Linked DNA regions of Homo sapiens: region 1 is linked to region 2. The links are contacts of gene promoters, found by promoter capture Hi-C in blood cells and fetal thymus (Javierre and others, 2016). All regions are on one chromosome and are shown on one strand. The core of a region is centred on a gene start or on the middle of the fragment in contact, and the rest is flanking DNA. Distances in the headings are between cores, read along the strand shown.

Region 1 (3,191 bases), core at 456-2,955, 110 kb before region 2:
ACCTCAGGTGATGTGCTTGCCTCAGCCTCCCAAAGTGCTGGGATTGCAGGCGTGAGCCACCGCACCTGGCCCAGACTTTTCATCTCAAGAAATAGAAGTAAAGCAAAATTCAAAAAGATGTGTGTAGGGGAGAAGGGGCTAATCTCAGTGAACGGGAGGAAACAGAGCAAAGCGCAGCTTTACTACCACCCCAAGCACAAGCCCGAGTACTCTGATCCTTCAGTAATAGTCACAGGCCATACTGGTCATCTGCCACCAGACTGGAGGAGATTGCTGGCCACAACACTCCCCTCTTCCCATGGCTTTAAGTCACATCTGTTTCCCAATGGGAAAGTCGACTGAGGGGACAGGGAAGGACAGACGGCAAAGCCATCAGAAGTCAGGTGAACTGAGATCAAAGTCGTGGCGAATGTCATCTGGACAAAGACGCTGCTCTCAGGATGTTTGCAATCTCAAGTAGGAGATACCCAACATCAATAAAGAGTAGCATTTTATTCATGTGCAGACCTCCCTTCTGGGCTAACACGCTGAGAAGAAAAAGAGTAACAACTTTATTTTGGGGCTGCTTATCTTTTGATGACGGGCCCACACAACCAGAGTTCGGCTTTTTCAACCAGAGAAAGCTTACTGAAGTGGGGATGAGGGGCCGCGAAGAGGATCGGACCGCAGGACTGGAAGCTGCAGTTTAAAAAACCGGGAAAAGGCCGGAGGCAGTGGCTCATGCCTGTACTCCCTGCACTTTGGAAGGCCGAGGCGGGCGGATCAAGAGATCAAGACCATCCTGGCTAACATGGTGAAACCCCGTCACTACTAAAACTACAAAAATTAGCTGGGCGTGGTGGCGCGCGCCTGTAAGTCCCAGCTGCGCGGGAGGCTGAGGCAGGAGAATCGCTTGATGCCGGGAGGCGGAGGTTGCAGTGAACAGAGATCGCTCCACTGCACTCCAGCCTGGCGACAGAGCGAGACTCCTCAAAAACAAAACAAAAAAACCGGGAAAAGGTTTTATTTCTCAATGACAGCCGCGAGGTGAAACTGCGATGGACTGGAAGTCAAAAACCGTGGGTTCCAGTTTGGGCTCTATCTTAACTATCTTGATCATTTTGGACAAGTCAAACCCTGTCTCTGAATCTGAGGTTCCATATCTGTGAAACAGACGAGTTGGGTCGCTTGACCTCCTTCCCTCCTGCTCTGAGCGTAACGATTGCTCGGAAGGTGCGCTCGGGCTGAGGAGGGCACGGCCCCGCAGGGCGGGGCGAGGAGAGAGCAGGAACCCGCACTCAAGACAAGGCCCCAGGGCAGTGCCCTACCCAGAAAAAGGGACTAGGATGGGGAGCAAGGGCCGAGGCTTCGCCCTTACCTGCCGCCTGCCGACTCCCCAGTCAGCCAAACCGAGCCCCGTAGCCTCTGCCGCCGCTCACTGCCACCCCCTCCGACTCGGCGCCCCGGCCGGGCCCGGCTCAATCCAAACCACCATGGCCCGCCGCCCGCAGCGCCAGGCAGCGGACCCGGACCCGCCGCCAGCCCATCCTCAACCACACGCGCAGGCGCCAGCGTGGACCTCTGAAGTTCCGCCCCCGGATTTGTCCCGGGGTAACCTGGGAAATGGAGTTTACTCGCAAGGATAAAGAGTACCAATTGACACGTGTCTTACTGCGGAACTGTGCCTGGGTTTGGCCAATGAGAAATCGACTTCGTTTTCATCCTGGTTTTGGGACAGCGGCAATCATGGCGCCACCTGTGAGATACTGCATCCCCGGTAAGTGAGCGCTTCCCGTACAGAGTCCTGGATAGGGGCTGAAGCAAGAAGGCTAAACGGCCTACAGCTTCTGGGGGCCCGTGACCGATGCAGCATTTTTTCTGCAGGCGAACGTCTGTGTAACTTGGAGGAGGGCAGCCCGGGCAGCGGCACCTACACCCGCCACGGCTACATCTTTTCGTCGCTTGCCGGCTGTCTGATGAAGAGCAGCGAGAATGGCGCGGTAAAGGAAGCGGCATGCCATCTCCCCTCTGTTTTTCCCTTAGGCTGCCCTTGAGTTCCAGTCCTTAGGCATGGGCACTGCGGACGCGTCTTTAGTGCCTCAGTGGTACAATGTTGGTCTCTTAGTTTCTTCTAGCCGTATCGCCGCTGTGGTGCACTTAGCCACCACACACTAGTTGTGTTGATCTCGCTTGGTTGTGCTGCTGACCCTCGGGGAGGGAAGTTGGGACAAAAGCAGATGCGAACTCAGTATCCCATCCCAGCCCAGCTCAGCCCAGCAGTGAGTTGCATACTGTATGAATGTTGCTTACCTTTCCGACTTTATCTAGCGCCACTATCTCCACCTCACTGACGCAATCTAGTCATACTGTCTTTTCTGTGTTTAAAAGTTATAATCACAGTCTCTGCTTGCCCTTTAAAAATTTTTTATAACATACTAGCTTCTTTCAGTGTCGGTAATGCGCCAAGCTTTCTCCTGCTACAGAGCCTTTGTAACATGCCATCTATCTGGAACGCTTCTATCTTCCTAGGCCTATTTAATTCCTACCTCCTTTAGATAGCTTCTCTACTATCACCTCAGAGAAGTCCTTCTGGACCCACTAATTGAGGAAAGGAGTTTTGTGGGGTGTTTTGTTTTTGTTTGTTTTGTTAAAGACTCACAAAAAACTCTGTTCCTTTTCTTCCAAGCACTATGTCAGCATATGATGAGACACTCAGGTATATGTTTCCTACTAGACTTCTCCCCTGCTTAAATCTAAGTCCGTGAAAGCAGGCCCTACCACCATACCATCCGTATATAGCACAAGGCAGCTCCTCAATAAATGTTGAATGTGTGAGTAATACCTACCTTTCTAGTTTCAGAGATAGATCCAGGATTAGCTCAGGATCATATAAGCAATATTTGAAGGAGCACAATAGAAAGAGGATTCAGAATTAGAACAGTTACGTTCTGGCTAACTTGACTTTGATTCTGCTTTGAGTAAGTAACTTAAGCTGTCTGATTCAAGGGGCTTTCTATTCAGTCATTGTTGGGAATGTTCTTAACAGTCCTGAGTTTGTTCATTTCATAGATATCACTTGAGTATTTTCATGTGTCAGGCACAGCGCTGACTTGGTTTCTGCTATCAAAGGACACAGACACAAATTGTAAACAAATAAATGCTCAAATGAGCATATGGTTACATATGTGGTGGTGCTTTGAAAGAATATTACA
Region 2 (3,125 bases), core at 128-2,627:
GGAAAAGTGTGTAACACTGTATGCATGTGTTTGTATACTACACTTTCATAGAACAAAGGCTAAAAAGGAAAAAAATTTAAATGTGAACCATGAGAGATTTTTTCCATCCCTTATATTTTTCTTTTTTTTTTTGAGACGGAGTCTCGCTTTGTTGCCCAGGCTGGAGTGCAGTGGCGTGATCTCGGCTCACTGCAACCTCCGCCTCCAGGGTTCAAACCATTCTCCTGCCTCAGTCTCCCGAGTAGCTGGGATTACAGGCGCCCGCCACCACGCCCGGCTAATTTTTGTATTTTTAGCAGAGATGGGGTTTCACCATGTTGGCCAGACTGGTCTGGAACTCCTGACCTCAGGTGATCCGCCCGCCTCGGCCTCCCAAAGTGTTGGGATCACAGGCATGAGCCACCCACCGCTCCTGGCCAATCCCCTATATTTCTATTTGAACCTTAAAAAAAAAAAAAGACCCTTCTTTAGCCGAGCGGCGGTGAGTCCTATTCTCATGATATGTCCGGGGGCTTGAAGACTGCGGGAGGGAAAGCCTCTGGGACCTCACCTCAGAGCGATTCTGCTCTGCTTCAAAGCGTCCCCTCTTAGGCCGGGCGCGGCGGCTGACGCCAGTAACCCCAACACTTTCGGAGGCCGAGGAGCGAGGACTCCTTGAGCCCAAGAGTTCGAGACCAGCCTGGGCAATATAGTGAGACCCCCCCCCCCCACCACCGTCTCTACAAAAAAAATTTTTTTAATTAGCCAGGCGTGGTGGCCGCGCCTGTGGTCCCAGCTGCTCCGGAGGCTTAAAGTGGGATGATTACTTAAGCCAGAGTTCGAGGCTGCAGTCAGCCGTGTTCGCGCCACTATACTTCAGCCTGGGCGACAGAGACCTTTTCTAAATAATAAATAAGTAAATAAGTAACGTGCCGCCTCTTCACTCCCAATTCCCTCCGCCTTTCCCCGCCCCGCCTCGTCGAAGCCGGACCCGCGGCGGCCCGCCCCTCCCCCACGACCAGGGCCGGGAACTGCGGGTGCGCGGGGCGGGAGTCGGGCGGGCTTAGGCGCGGCCGACACGTGGGGAGGGAGGCCGCGGCCCAGGAGGCGGGCCCGGAGTGGGTGTGGGTGTGTCCGTGCGTGGGAGAAACCAACCTCAGCCTCCTCCGAGGCGCCACGTTTCAGCACGGCTCGTTGGGCCCGGGAGGTCGGAAATCAGTCCCCACGCCCCGGACCCCCTCCTGGAGGGACAACGAACACAGGCGCGGGACGGCTTCGGTCACCGCCCGCGCCGCCCTTTGCCCCCGTGCCTGCTCGCGCGTCACCCCCGCCCCGGTGCGGTGGTAGGGCCCGGCGCGACGTCACCCATTGTTTACAAATCAACCCGAGCCGGCAGGATTCCGGCTCCAGCGGCTGCAGGCGCGTGGCTCGAGTGCCTGGCGGGCTCCGGCTTCCGCGTCCGCCCCTGCTCCGGCTTCGCCCGCAGCTCCGCGCCCGCGGGCAACCAAGCCCCCAGCGAAGCCCGCACAGCTCCGGGTGCCAGGACGGGGGGCCATGCCGTGCCGGAGGGAGGAGGAAGAGGAAGCCGGCGAGGAGGCGGAGGGGGAGGAAGAGGAGGACGACAGCTTCCTCCTGCTGCAGCAGTCGGTGACGCTGGGCAGCTCGGGCGAGGTGGACCGGCTGGTGGCCCAGATCGGCGAGACGCTGCAGCTGGACGCGGCGCAGGACAGCCCGGCCTCGCCGTGCGCGCCCCCGGGGGTGCCGCTGCGGGCCCCGGGGCCCCTGGCTGCGGCGGTGCCGGCGGACAAGGCCCGGCCCCCGGCGGTGCCGCTGCTGCTGCCGCCCGCTTCGGCTGAGACGGTGGGCCCGGCGCCCTCTGGGGCCCTGCGCTGCGCCCTAGGGGACCGCGGCCGCGTGCGCGGACGCGCTGCGCCCTACTGCGTGGCGGAGGTCGCCGCAGGCCCCAGCGCGCTGCCGGGGCCGTGCCGGCGAGGATGGCTCAGGGACGCGGTCACCTCCCGCCGCTTGCAGCAGCGCCGATGGACCCAAGCCGGGGCACGCGCCGGCGACGACGACCCGCATCGGCTCCTCCAGCAGCTCGTGCTCTCGGGAAACCTCATCAAGGAAGCCGTGCGGAGACTCCAACGAGCCGTCGCCGCGGTTGCAGCCACGGGCCCCGCAAGCGCCCCTGGGCCCGGGGGAGGCCGCAGCGGACCTGACCGCATTGCCCTGCAGCCCTCAGGCTCCTTGCTCTGACGCAGGCCTCCTGGAGGAGGAAGTGGAGGCCGCTGCGTAGACCCAACAGCGTCCAGTTCCTACTAACTCTGAGCTGAAGCCGACGTCGCCAGCCTGGGAGCGACCACTTTGGCTGCGGGGAGGCGCGTGGGGAGAGATCTCAACCAGAGAAGTTACCAGCCGCGGCGAGGCCGTCGGAGAAAACTTAAGCGTGGAGAAATGTATGCGCCAGGGTGCTTCCGTGGGGCATGAGAATTTCCCGGGCCATCCAAGCCCAAGGACCTGGGATAAACTGGGAGAACTATGGCAGCTACTTGCATCGACTTGTACCTCACTTAGCCCTTGGGGGCGTCGTGAGCTTGGATTGTTTAAGGAGGGCTCAGGGGTAGGAATCGCGATGGCTTTATAACAATACTTGAAAACTAACGACACGCATACATTTTCTTATTTTCTGGTGGAGGAGCTTAGTAAGTGGTGCTACAATTGCTGTGCAAAGAAATTCCAGAGGGGAGAAGAATGTAAAAGTTTGGTGGTGGGTGGCTTGGCATTGCCCCTTTTTCCCACCGATTCGGTGGCTGGTGAAGGTGGGAGATGTGAACTCCAATTAAGGGACTGGAGAGAGGTGAAGAATTTTGCAGGTGGGAGATTTGGATTTGAATGTGGACTTGTAAATGACTTGACCTTGCCATCTGTGTTCAAGGTCACGGTTTGCTGTGGGGTTCCTGGGAGAGCTTACTCACCCCGGAGTCTTTTCTTTCTCTTGCTCCAAGAAGAGCCCTGTTGGTGCTTTACCACCGCTTGGAGTCTCCCGAGGACACAAACAGGCAGAGAGGGACGTGTAGGGAGAGTTCTTTCCTGTTTTCTGTGCTTTCCTTTTTACAGGACTCCCGGAAGGCCACTCATGGCCATGC

Evidence for each region. The method cuts DNA at HindIII sites, captures the fragments that hold promoters and counts their contacts. A CHiCAGO score of 5 or more calls a contact.
Region 1: a contact is called between the fragment with the promoter of EXOSC1 here and the fragment with the promoter of FRAT2 in region 2, in 2 of 17 cell types (neutrophils and monocytes). The highest score is 12.6, in neutrophils.

Annotation. Positions count from the first base shown.
Region 1 is chr10:97,444,520-97,447,710 of GRCh38, reverse strand. It overlaps EXOSC1 (exosome component 1), which reads left to right and starts at 1,705. Exons shown (of 8, transcript NM_016046.5): 1 at 1,705-1,756; 2 at 1,864-1,979. The coding sequence starts at 1,726. It overlaps ZDHHC16 (zDHHC palmitoyltransferase 16), which reads right to left and starts at 1,536. Exons shown (of 12, transcript NM_198046.3): 1 at 1,358-1,536. RefSeq lists a silencer at 1,275-1,484 and enhancers at 1,416-1,995, 1,996-2,576. The HindIII fragment of the contact is 1,823 bases long and covers 626-2,448 here.
Region 2 is chr10:97,332,981-97,336,105 of GRCh38, reverse strand. FRAT2 (FRAT regulator of Wnt signaling pathway 2) reads left to right here and starts at 1,377. Exons shown (of 1, transcript NM_012083.3): 1 at 1,377-3,125. The coding sequence starts at 1,534. The coding sequence ends at 2,235. It overlaps LOC105378448 (a long non-coding RNA gene), which reads right to left and starts at 1,260. Exons shown (of 2, transcript NR_188201.1): 1 at 1,135-1,260. RefSeq lists silencers at 809-1,158, 1,289-1,438, 1,529-1,678, 2,019-2,148, 2,159-2,208 and an enhancer at 1,759-2,666. The HindIII fragment of the contact is 20,442 bases long and covers 1-3,125 here.